2 separate regions of the Homo sapiens genome follow, and region 2 is linked to region 1. Evidence: promoter capture Hi-C in human tissues and cell types (Jung and others, 2019). All regions are on one chromosome and are shown on one strand. The core of a region is centred on a gene start or on the middle of the fragment in contact, and the rest is flanking DNA. Distances in the headings are between cores, read along the strand shown.

What was found. Contacts are between HindIII fragments. The study calls those that stand out against the background at their distance.
Region 2: a fragment that was not itself captured here is called in contact with the fragment with the promoter of SLC15A2 in region 1 in 2 of the 25 tissues and cell types used here (H1 embryonic stem cells and hippocampus).

What each region holds. Positions count from the first base shown.
Region 1 is chr3:121,890,081-121,896,890 of GRCh38, forward strand. It overlaps SLC15A2 (solute carrier family 15 member 2), which reads left to right and starts at 4,321. Exons shown (of 22, transcript NM_021082.4): 1 at 4,321-4,501; 2 at 6,326-6,413. The coding sequence starts at 4,397. RefSeq lists enhancers at 2,747-3,280, 3,281-3,813. The HindIII fragment of the contact is 16,247 bases long and covers 1-6,522 here.
Region 2 is chr3:121,821,168-121,827,977 of GRCh38, forward strand. It overlaps IQCB1 (IQ motif containing B1), which reads right to left. Exons shown (of 15, transcript NM_001023570.4): 5 at 4,884-5,013. Among named protein-coding and RNA genes, the nearest start is that of IQCB1, 10 kb to the right of the region's middle. The HindIII fragment of the contact is 3,467 bases long and covers 2,617-6,083 here.

The sequences.
Region 1 (6,810 bases), core at 3,071-5,570:
TTTTTGAGACGGAGTCTCTGCTCTGTCGCCCAGGCAAAAGAATATTTTTCCATTTACCTATTAATCTTTTTGTTATTGATTTATGCAGTTACTTATATAATCTGGACACAAATCCTTTGACAGATATATGTAACACAAATATTTTCTTCCCCTCTGTAAATTGTCTTTTGACAATTTGCAGAGTGGTCAACAAAAGTTCTTAATTTTAATATTGTCCAACATCTCTTTTTTTTCTTTCATGGTTACCATATTTTATATCTTATTTAAGAAATGCTGGCCAGGTACAGTGGCTCATGCCTGTAATTCCAGCACTTTGGGAGACCGAGGTGGGCTGATCACGAGGTCAGGAGTTTGAGACCAGCCTGACCAACATGGTGAAATCCCGTCTCTACTAAAAATACAAAAATTAGCCAGGCGTGGTGGCGCGTGCCTGTAATCCCAGCTACTCAGGAGGCTGAGGCAGGAGAATAGCTTGAACCCGGGAGGCGGAGGTTGCAGTGAGATCATGCCACTGCATTCCAGCCTGGGCGACAGAGCAGAGACTCCGTCTCAAAAAAAAAAAGAAAGAAAAAAAAGAAATGCTGACTTACTCCACAATCATAAAGATGTTCTCTTATGTTTTCCTCTAAAGACATTTTTTTTTACTTTAACATTTAGATAGGCAATCTATATAGAAATTATTTTTGTGTATGTTGTAAAATAAGGGTCAAAATAATTTAGGGGGTATGGATATTCAAATGGTGTTTATTTATTGAAATCAACATCATTTCCTTCACTGTATTACAGCATCATCTTTGTTATATACATTATGTGTGTGAATCACTTTCTGAACGCTGTGTTGTTTCATTGGTTGCCCTATGTTATCTGTGTCAATTCCACTCTGATATAATAACTATCTTTAAAATAGGTCTTAGATTGGGTAATACAATCCTCCACCATTATTCTTTAAGATTGACTTTGCTATCCTTGGCTCTTTGCACTTCCAAGTTGACTTTAAAAAGTCATCTTGTCATTTTCTATACTCACAAAACCTGCTGGGATTTTGTTTTAGAACTGTAGAATGTTTTGAGAAATGTTGACATCTTTACAATATGAGCCTTCCAATTCATAAGCATGGTATGTTTCCATTTATTTAGATCTTCTTCAATTTCTTTCAGTAAAATTTTATAGTTTTTAATATTGAGGTCTAGAAGATCTTTTGTTAGATTTATTCCTAAATCTATTTATATAAATAAATATATAAATGTATTCCTTAGATTTCCCTTTTCTATTTCTTTGTGACTGATGTTTGATACAATTTATTTTTGTGTATTTTAATTTAGAGAACTTGTTAAATATATGTTCCCTTTTAATTTCATATTTTCCTCTTCTCTCTGACTATATTAGATTCTATTAACTTAGAGCAGCAGTCTACTTTTGTGTATATATAACTAAAACTTTATCATATGTCATAATAAATGTTTTCTGATGTTGTAATCACTAAGGACACAAATATTCTTTACTCATCACTGATACTTAGATTCTTTCACTTTTATTGTTTGTCTCAGAATAGTTGGTGCTCATTTCTGTCTGGGAGGTGCTTTCTTTTTATCTCTTCTCTTTCTCCTTCTATCTGATGTTAGCAAAATAATAGGATTTAAGAGCCATCTTAATATTATATAAATGGCTCAAGACTATGCCTTGGGAGCCTAGGGTTCCAGTCCTTGCTTTGTCCCTTCTGAGTTCCTCTGAAATAGAATAGGAGAGAATTTATGACCAGTGTTTCCCAAATTCCTAGCGTAAGAATTGCTAGAGGTGCTCGTTGAAAACAAAGATTCTTAGATCCCTACCGAGATCTACTGAATTGGAATTTCCAAAGGAAAATGATTCTTATCCTCAGGGAAGTTTCACTCACATAGGACAAGATTAAGATTCCTTCCATCTCTGATATTATTCGATTCTGTGAATACTATCATTATACTGCCATAATCAAAAGAAGAATTTTGTCTAAACAAAGGAGTGTCAGAAAACCACTGCCAATACTCCAAAGTTTAGTATTTGGGATACCTATGAGCACAAATAAATTGGTACATTGCATACAGGTGCTATTCCATCTACTCTGCCAGATCAAGGAAAGCCACAACATAAGTGGATCTTCAAGGCATCTGTGCCTCTGCTAGTTAACTTGACTAGTAACTTCTGACCATTTATTTTCCAGCCAAAGTCATTAACCAAACCAATTCAGAAATGGCAGTGCTTCCTGAAAGAATAACTATACCTTAATTATTAATGCCACAGTCAGAAATGAAGCTGGACTCTTCTTTGGGTAAAGGTTGGTGGGAGACAGTAGAAATGAGGGGTGTAATAGAAGCTGAGAAGATATGGTCAAAGTCTGAGTTAAAGTTTAGAGAGGAAAAGACAGTTTATCCTGGCCCTATTTGTCAATAAATTATTTGAATAGTTAAAGTAAAAATTTTGTGAGGGATAGAGTTATAGGTTTTCTCTCTTGTATTTTCAAATAAAATAATTCATTCTGATGTTGCCTGACCTTGTTGATTTAGTCTTCATTTTTCTTATTTCTTTTATAGCTCTCTAGCCTTTCTTTTCCCTTTTCTTTTGACAAACAACTAGAGGGGCACCATGCTCTTTTCTTATCCTTTTACTTCTTTGGCTTGACAAAAATAACACAGCATAAAATGCACCTAGCATTATGATGTTTGTTCTTGTTCCTCTTCTGATAAGGACTAAATGTATAATTAAGGAAAATGGTGTTCACAACAGTACCTAGAAAGTAACTGGTTCACAATTTTTGCTCAAATTAAATTTTATTTATTAAATGAAAGAATAGATTAATCTTGAAGTGAGAAAATGAAAATATAAGGAGTGACTTTAGCAAAGAAGAACAATGGTTCCCAAATGTATATCACCAATCCTTTTCTCTCATTTTCTTTAGCCCCACCTCTTTAATTGCTTATAGGCTATTTCTAGCTGAACTTTTATGATGTTGAAAACAAAAGTCTCCTTCCTTCCTTCCTTTCTTTTCTTTTCTTTCTTTCCTTTCTTTCCCTTCTTTTCTTTCTTTCTTTCCTTTCTTTCCCTTCTTTTCTTTCTTTCTTTCAAGTCTTGCTCCGTCGCCCAGGCTGGAGTGCAGTGGTGGGGTCTCGGCTCACTGCAACCTCTGCCTCTTGGGTTCAAACGATTCTCCTGCCTCAGCCTCCTGAGTAGCTGGGACTACAGGCGCGTGCCACCACACCCAGCTAATTTTTGTATTTTTAGTAGAGATGGGGTTTCACTATGTTGGCCAGGCTAATCTTGAACTCCTGAGCTGTGATCAGCCCACCTCGGCCTCCCAAAGTGTTGGGATTACAGGCGTAAGCCTCTGCACCCAGCCAAAACTCACCATCTTTCTTATCTTCCAAACTCAGTTTTATGATGACTTTCCTTCTCCAATGCATTTTAATCCTCTGCATTCCTACATTCCATTTATGTAACCTCCATACCTGAATAATGACTGACACTAACTCCACTTTTCCCAGCTGTCATGGCATAGTGAAAATTCCAGATCTGCCACTTAGTGGACAGGTACTTTGAACAAATTTCTTAACCTCTGGGAACATTACTTTCTATAAAATGGGGATAGTAATATGAATTAGAATAAATATATATGTTATAGATATACAACATAGATGTAATTCATATATATTAACCTTTCAATAGTAGATGTTCAATAAATTACAGCTATTGTTACCCTGAAATCAGTTTTTCTTTTTTTTTTTTTTTGGAAATGGAGTTTCGCTCTTGTTGCCCAGGCTGGAGTGCAATGGTGCAATCTCAGCTCACCGCAACCTCCGCCTCCCAGGTTCAAGTGATTCTTCTGCCTTAGCCTCCTGAGTAGCTGGGATTATAGGCGCCCGCCACCACACCCAGCTAATTTTTTTTTTGTATTTTTAGTAGAGACGGGGTTTCACCATGTGGGCCAGGCTGCTGACCTAAAACGATCCGCCTGCCTGGGCCTTCCAAAGTGCTAGGATTATATGCGTGAACCACCGCGCCTGACCATGGAATCAGTTTTTCAATCTGTGCTCGAGGTGTTGTGTTCTTAACTATCTTCTACTCCTTTGCAAAGATAATCTTTCTTAAACATAGACTTTCTAATCAGTTCTCTAGCATTGTTTCATTCTGTCTTTGGCATGTTTTCACTTTGCTGTGCTGTACTTTTACACATTCTTTTTAACTATAGCTTCCTGCTTTGCTCTGGATCAGGAAGCTATTGAAGCTGACACCCACAGAGTTAAACTGAGTTGCTGAAGCCACCAGCTCCCCCTCCCAGTCCTTCTTTTCAGAGTAGGCTGGCAGCTGTCCTAACTGCCTACTAAAGCCAAATGCTTGAGGAGAGAGAGAGAGTAAGGAGCCAGCCATGAATCCTTTCCAGAAAAATGAGTCCAAGGAAACTCTTTTTTCACCTGTCTCCATTGAAGAGGTACCACCTCGACCACCTAGCCCTCCAAAGAAGCCATCTCCGGTGAGTCCTTAGATTCAATCCTGCCTCTGAGAGGAATGGCCTCCCTCTTTTGGCTCTCTTCCTTGGGCTCTGGAGCTTCCAGCTGAGCTGTATTAGGGTATTAAAATGCTTCTCTCTTGGATTTAGAATTCACCTGAAACCAAATCTAAACAGAAGCTTCCTTTACATAAGAAGACAAAGCAGCAGGAAGAGGTAGTCAAAGTTCTTCAGTTGGGATCCAGGGACTTGCTGAATTTCATTGCATATTCTGTTTCCCTGGGGGAAAAAAGCAATTCGAATGTCCAGGGAAACTTGGCAAGCATTCTTGTCTGAAGAACTGTGTGTGATTGTTCTTTCTTTACCAATATAAAAACTCTGCCCTTAGTTCTCCCTGTGTGCAGAGTCTTCTGCTGAACACCAATGGAAGTTTCAGAATAGATCCAATTTCTGTTACTATGTGTTCCCAGTTTACTGTGGGAGATAGGACAGAGAAACAGAGAATAGTAATGTTTTGCATTTATATACTCGCTAAAGCACTTCTAAACTCATCATCTCAGTCAATTCTTACACTAAAATTCTGTAAGTGGGGAGGATATAGTAATGATAGCCAAAATTTACTGAGTTCTTACAGTGGGCCAAAAGGTGATGTTATTCTCATTTCTTTGGAATAACAGAACAGAGGTTTTGAGACAGGTGTAGTGACAATGCCAGTATCAGTATGTTAACACAGCCAGTGGCAGTGTTGCCTAACTAGCTAACAGTGTGTCGGCTAAACTCCAGATTGCATAATTCTCAAGCTGTGAGCTGCAAAGGTAAGAAGCCCAGTTCATTGTATGTTTCAAACAAGCTATTATAAAACATTAAAATATATTAATATTTAGGAGGATCATTTATATATATCCCTAGGGTTAAAAGAATAATACATTACTTTATTATTTTGCCTATTTTTTTAGTTAATGATATCTCTTCTGGTCCCAAAGAATTTAGGGCTACTTGCAAAGATGTATATACTTCTCATGAAATGAGGCAATATAAATCTTACAAGATTTGACTGTACTGAGGACAGATACCTCTATGTCTCTTCTCATGTTAGTTGGTCTATTGTAATAGATAGGGAATTAAAATAAAACATAACATTCCTTATATTCTGACTGATATATTACATGAAAAGCATAATTCTTTTAATGTCCAGTAGGATTATCATGAAAATGTTATAGAATCTCTTTAGTAGGAAGAGTAGACATTTAATTTTACAGGATTTAAGAACTCTGCCTAAAGTCAAGGTGATCAATTAGCTTACCCTTAGGAATCTCTGTCCTCCATGTTGGGCTCTGTGCCTGACTCCAGCAGCCTCTGAAGTAGAAGCTATCATATTGCCAGGATTCCTCCCAGCATGGCAAACAGAACAGCTGGGGACAAGAGTCCCCATAGTGGGGCTAAGCAGAGACTGACATCTGAATCTCACTGCTTGGATATCAGGTATTCCATAGGCTACCTCTTTATTCTGTTCCTAGGAAGTAAATATCACCATTCTTCTGCCCCAGAGCCCTAGGCTTTTCATTTAGTAGTTGTGGGAAGATGAGCAGGTCCAAGGAATATTTGAGCAAGTCCATGTAAAATAAATAAGAAACAAAATAATATTCAGAGTAGCTTCTATTATTTCTAAATCAGTAATATAAGCACTTTTAGTGTTACCTAATAGGTGTGTCATGAAGAGTAGAGACCATTGCTCCATTACCTACCAAGATGATTTGAAATAAATGAATTTTTCAGTTTTGAAGAAATCTAATTGTTGAAACAGGGAAAAACAGCTCATGCTTGAATCATTGCCTTCTTGTTGAATAGACAATCTGTGGCTCCAACTATCCACTGAGCATTGCCTTCATTGTGGTGAATGAATTCTGCGAGCGCTTTTCCTATTATGGAATGAAAGGTAATTTTGTGTCCAAGAGTCCTACCTACTCTCCTCCACCCACCCTCACCCCATGTTTGTGACAGCCTGGTCTCTTTATATGCACTTATTTCCCGAGTCCACTCTTTCTGCCTTGGTCCAAATTGGTCCTTTACTTTGGCCAAGACTTCCAATAAATCTCTCATAGGATTTCACCTAATATGTAGGCCAAGATCAGAAAGGCCTGAGACAAACCAGAACATAGACTTTGAGAATGGGTAAGTGGGTGGAGCTGGGCATGATGGCATGTGCCTGTAGTCGCCACTACTTGGGAGGCTGAAGCAGGAGGATTGCTTGGGCCCAGGAGTTCAAGGTTATCAGGCACCTGTAATTGTGCCAGTGAATGGCCACTGCACTCCAGCCTGGGCAACATAGCAAG
Region 2 (6,810 bases), core at 3,100-5,599, 69 kb before region 1:
GTTGCCCAGGTTGGTCTTGAACTCCTGGGGTCAAGTGATCCTGCCATCTCAGCCTCCCAAAGTGCTGGGATTATACAGGCGTGAGCCACTGCATCTGGCCTTCAATCTTTCTGAATGAGAATACTCTATCTAACTCTGGTAGGAATCTGCACTGGGACTCAAAGATGTCATACTTATTCCTCTTTCCTGGTCTTGTCCATTTCCGCTGCCTGTAATGCCCTCATATTTCCAAATCTCATCCATGCTTTAGAGATAGATAGACCAGGTACCATTGGCTCCACAAAGCTTTTTGGAATCACTCTTGTTCACATTGGTTGTTCCCTACTCTTCCCCTTTATAGAACTTACTTTCCTGTTAGTTGTGGGCCAGAAAATATTTTAGGCATTATAGTCTCTAGAAACTACTGAACTCTGTGGCTATAGTGAAAGTAGTCATGGATAATATAAACAAATAGGTGCAGCTGTGTTCCAATACAACTTAATTTTTAAAAATAAGCTGGATTTAGCCCACAGGCCATAGTTTGTTGACCTAAGCTTTTGCTGACCAAATGTATAAACTCGGGAAAAAATATAAAAAGCAACTGTTTGAAGGTTTTAGATAGCAAGCAAAGGCACACAGACATGATCCTGAAATAAAATGTACTGACTGAAATCTAAATTTATCTTGTGTGATTGTCAAAGATATTCTGGGTGTTTCTGTAAGGGTATTTTTAGATGAGTTTAACATTTAAATTTTTAGTCTGAGTAAAGCAGATTGCTTTCCTTAATGTGGGTGGGCCTCATACAATCAGTTGAGGGCTTGAGTAGAACAAAAGATTGACCCTCTCCCACATAAAGGGAAATTCCTCTTGCCTGACTGCCTTTGAGTTGGGACATCAGTATTTCCTGACTTCAGACTCAAACTGAAACACTGCTTCTTCATGGATCTCGAGTCTGCTGGCATTTGGACTAGCACTATGCTATCAGTTCTCCTGATTCTAAGGCCTTTAAACTCAGACTATACCATCAGCTCTCCTGGGTCTCTAGCTTACCAACTGCAAATCTCAGGACTTGTTAGCTTCCATAATTGCCAATTCCTTATAATCAAGCACTTTCTCTTTCTTTCTCTCTCTCCATATATCTTCTATTGGTTCTGTTTTTCTGGAGAGACCTGACTAATATGCCTGGCTTTTCCCAGTGTGTGTTTATCAACATAGGGAAAGAGTTCAAATAAGAAGTTGCAGTATAACTTGGCTGAGGAGTCAGAATTTGGAGCTTGGGGCTGCCAGAACAGTTAAAGAAGTGATCCACAAAGTACAGAGCTTCAAAATCTATATACAAACTTCCATTGAATTCTTGACTCTTAAACTGTACATATGAGAGAAAAGGCTCCACGGAGCCCAGAAGAATCTACAGCTGAAAGGCTGAAAGAAATTACCAGCAATTTCATCTTTTGCCTAGTGCTGGGTATACAGAGTTTGGAGTTTAGGTTCTTCCAAGTCAGATGGTCTGGGTTAACATGGTGGGCTTTCCATTTAAACCACAGAAGGATCTCACCTTAGGTATAAGGACTGTGAACCAGGACTAAGGGCAATACTCTAATGGCAAAACTGAAGTAAACCTCTCCAAAGAAAGGCTAAAACCAAGCCTCCACAGGAACAATTGATCTGCCAGAATTTAACTGCTCTCAAGTCTTCAGAGGAAGATACGAATTTCTACAATGTGTCATTCACAGTTACCATTATAAAACAAAAAATTAACAGAGATGTGAAGAAGCAGAAAAATTTGACCCAGATAATTTGACCCAGAGAAAAAACAGATAATAAAAAGACTCTCAAATGATCCAGGTATTGGATTTATAAACAACAACTTAAAAATAACTATAATAAATATGGTAAACAATCAATAAGAGAAGCAAATAAAAATCATAGAACAATACAATATATGAAATGAAAAATTCACTAGGTAGGATTATTAGCACATTAGACACTGTAGAAGATAGGGTCAGTGTACTTGAAGACAGAACAATAGAAATTATCGAAACTGAAGTAAACAACAACAAGAAAAGGATGAAGGCAGCCTCAACAACCAGAAGTCCCAGAGTGAAGGTAGAGAGAATAGGGCAAACAAAAGTATTTGAAAAAATATTAGCTGAAAATTTTCTTAATATGAATACATTAACTCAGACACATGAAACTCAGGACCTCCAAGCAAGATAGACATCAGGAAATCTACAACAAGGTTCATCAAAGTAAAATTGCTGAAAATAAAACAAAATAAACCAAACAAAGAGAACATCTTAAAAAAGCCAAAGATAAAAAGGTGCAATATGTATAGGAGAATGACAAGAAGAATGAAGGCTGAATTTACATCAGAAACAAAAGATGCCAGAAGACAATGGAAAAAAATCTTTAAAGTGCAAAAAGAGGAAAAAAAATTGATGAAGTAGAATTATACACATGCAACAGAAATATTCCTCAAAAGTGAAGGCATCATGAAGACATTTTCAGATAACCAAAAAGCTGAGAGAATTCATTACCAGCAGAATTGCACTGTAAGATATGCTAAAGGAGGTTGTCAGGCTTAAAGGAAATGATACCAAATGAAAATTCAGATCTGTTTGAAGGAATAAAGACAACCAGACATAGTAGATATAAAAAAATCATTTTTCTTTCATTTCTTTAAATTATTGAAAAGTCAATACACTATTTAAAGTAAAAATAACACATGGTAGATTTCATAATATATGTAAAAGTAAAATACATGACAAAATAGCACAAAAGATAGAAACTGGGAACAAATTTCTTAAAAATAGCAAAATGGTAGAATTAAACCTAACCATAGCACAAATTAGATTAAATGCAAGTAAATGATACCCTTTAAAACAACAGCTTGTCAGACTAGATGAAAAAGCAAGACCTGACAATACGCTATTTAAAACAGACTCATTTTAAGTATAAGACAGAGGTTAAAAAGTAAAGGTTGAGAAATGATGTACAATAGTCTCCCCCTTATCCATGGAAGACATATTCCAAGACCCCCAGTGGATGCCTGAAGGTGTGGATAGTACTGAACCCTATATATACTTTTTTTTTTAATCTGAAAACTGAGACCAGCTACTAAGTGACCAACTGGCAGGCAGCCTGTACAGTGCTGATATGCTGGTCAAGGGGTGCTTCACATCCTGGGAAGGACACTATGAGACTTCATCATGCTATGAGAACAGCATGCCGTTTAAAATTTAATTGTTTATTTCTGGAATTCTCCATTTAATATTTTTGAACCACTATTGGCCATGGGTAACTGAAACCATGAAAGGTGAAACTGCAGAAAGTGTATCATGTAAACACTAATCATAAGAAAACTGGAGTGGCAATATTCGTAATAGTAAACAAAGTAGACTTCAAGATAAGGTCTATTATCAGAGATAAATATCATTTCATGTGACCTGAGTCCATGAGTAAGGTTGAAAAAAAAAAAAAAGACCAGTTCATAATGATAATAGCTTTCATTCATCCAGAAGATATAATATTCCTAAATGTGTATGTATCTAATCACAGAGCTTTGTAATACATGAAGCAAAAACATATAGAACTAAAGACAGAATTAGACAAATCCGCAACCATAGTTGGAAATTTTAATACCCTTGCTCACTAAAAAGTAGAACTGTAGACAAGAAAAAAAAAAGAGAATTTAGAAGACTTCAACAACTCTACTAACCAAATTGACCTAATTAACACTTATAGAACATTACATACAACTGCAGAGTTCACATTTGGGTATACAAGTAGTCCTAGCTTTTGCATGGCACCATATTAAATAAAACCTGTGCATATCAAAACCTTTGCATGGTTCTGACATGCACGAGTTTCAGTTAAGATGGAACTGTGCAAAACAAAGGTTTCTTTTTCTTTTCTTTTTTTTTTTTTTTTCAGATGGAGTTTTGCTCTTGTTGCCCAGGCTGGAGAGCAATGGCACTATCTTGGCTCACTGCAACCTCTGCCTCCTGGGTTCAAGTGATCCTCCTGCCTCAGCCTCCCAAGTAGCTGGGATTATAGGCATGTGCCACCATGCCCGGCTAATTTTGCATTTTTAGTAGAGACAGGGTTTCTCCATGTTGGTCAGGCTGGTCTCAAACTCCCAACCTCAGGTGATCCGCCCGCCTCGGCCTCCCAAACTGCTGGGATTACAGGTGTGAGCCACTGCGCCCAGCCCACAAAAGTTTCTTTTAATGAACATTCACAAAGATAAAACATATGCGGAGGGCCATAAAACAAGTCTGAAAAAATTCCAAAGGATTGAAATGATATAGAGAATGTTATCTGACCAAAACATAATTAAATTAGAAATTGATAACAATAAAGTATCTAGTAGATCTTCAAATATTTGGAAATTAAGCAACACACTTCTAAATCCCTGGGTCAAAAAAAGAGCACATGTATAGCATCTAGCATAATGCAACCAAGAAATACTTGAAAAGACCCCTATGTTTGGGTTGAATATTTTGACTGGAGAAGATATGAGAGATCAAATAGGAAGTTCACCTTTATTCTTCACTACTGGAGCTACTTAGAAAAGCCCTAGCCCTAGAGAACATACTTTCCTCTACTGTTAATTTAAGTAAAAAGTATGTTTAGAAAGATGTTATGGAAATAATTGTCTATGGGTGCTGCCCAACAAGTAAAGTAGCAAGGCAGATCCTTCAAAAAATCAAATGGCAAGCTTCAGTCAGCATTAAAAATTTTTCAAACATAGAGATGATTTTTGGAAGGTTGTAACTTTGAAAATGTTTAAATTCACTACTTTAATTGTACTTTCAGCCAAATATTGCACATTTAAAAAATAACAGAACAGCTTCTTAAGAATTAAACTGATTTAGCTACAAAAGACTAAATAAACACATACCTTAGCTGCATTGATAAAACATGTTTGTAATTGTCTCCCCAAAACTAGAAAATTTTCTGCAGCTGATGGAAGTAATTCATTGTAAAATTCCTCTGCATCTTCTCCTGGCTCCAAGCCCACACAGCAATGGCTGAAATAAGAGCACAAGTTCGTGTTAATTAGAAGTTTATGTTGAATGCTCAAGCTTCTAGAGACACTGTGCCTTATTGAGAATTTTTAGTATGCTTCTTTTGTTACCAAGACAATAAAGAATTTTTGTTGAAAAATTAGTCTAACAACTTTCTAGAAAAGTAAACAGTGGTATGGACCATGCTTGTACTTAGGTCTGGGATTTATGTATCCTAAAAACCTACATATCAGCTCATTCAGCAAATAAAAGACACTTGGCTCACAATAAAGAGAAGCTAAGTTTTCAGTGAATTGGCTATAATCATTCTCAAAGCTATAGGATACCTTGAGAGTTTAATTTATGAAAAGCATTTGTGTTAACTAATACATTTTAGACACCTAATAGCTGAAAAATGCCCAAGTAGGATTTGTTTGCAAGGGATACATAAGGAAACCAAACACTAATTTCATACCAATTTTACCTTCCAATAGATCTACTTTTTGCAAAATACTCATTTGCATATTCCTTATATCAGAAGGACAAACGGCAAAACCTAACTCTAGTAGGAACACTTTACAATATACATTAGAGGAGAGAAAGTCACTTAGAGAAAAAGGTCCTCTTAAAATTGTACATAAAAGTCATTTCCTGTACATAAGTCAGAAGTCCCAATAATAAAAGGTTTTTCTGTAAACTAACATTCAAAAGAGCCTCAAACCCAAGAATGGTCTCTATGTGTGTACTCTAATGAACAAAAACTGCTGTTTGAGTCTTTTCAACAAAATGTATGGACACTAATAAGCAATAACAACTATGTATTGAGCATGTTAAAAATCTAAGTAATCAATGGCAGACTGGATAAAGAAAATGGTATATTTCTTTGGGGTGGTACATATACACCATGGAATACTATGCAGCCATAAAAAAGAACAAGATCATGTCCTTTGCAGCAACATGGATGGAGCTGAAGGCCATTAACCTAAGTGAACTAACACAAGAACAGAAAGCCAAACACTGCATATTCTCACTTATAAGTGAGAACAAACATTGAGTATGCAATTTACCTATAAAACAAACCTCCACATGTACCCCTGAACCTAAAATAAAAGTTAAAAAAAAACCTAAGTGGATAATATTTACATGTATCACTTTTTGTTGTTGTTGTTGTTTATTTGCACCTGGGTTCCTAAAGTTAATGGGCTAATGCTCACATGTATCAGCTTTTCTTTTCTCTTTGGTTCCTAAAGTTAATTACTTAAGAGTATCTTTTTTGATTGAGAAGATTAACAAATGAAATTATGTTTATTTGTGCATTCAGAAACATGGGAATTTCTTAAGTCTTGAATTCCACCCGAGAGCCTGGCTTAATCAATATCATCATAAACTAGCATATCGAATCAAAACAAAAACATAAGGCTTTATTTACTTAAGAAAATCAATCTTGAAAATTAAAGTATGAAAAAGAATATCACATATATTTTTCAACTGTTCTTTGTAACTGTGTGCTTTAAATTTGGCCTTTACCAAGTAACACAGTAGGATTAAGCAGCTTAGAAATCTAGCATCCAAGACAAACCCTTTCAGTGGGAATAGCTTATTAAATTCAAATGGCTTATTTAGGAAAAACAAAAAAAGAAGGCTAGGATCCAGTTAGTAAATACACACTTTCACTTATTAATCAGGAAGTAGCTTAGGCACTAAGAACATCTGGTTTATTTTACTACCTCCTTTAAAAAATGTTTATTTCTCTTCTATTAATTTCTAGCATGGCAGTAGATCAGTAAATTCTACTTCTAAATTTTATTGACAGTATTTGGG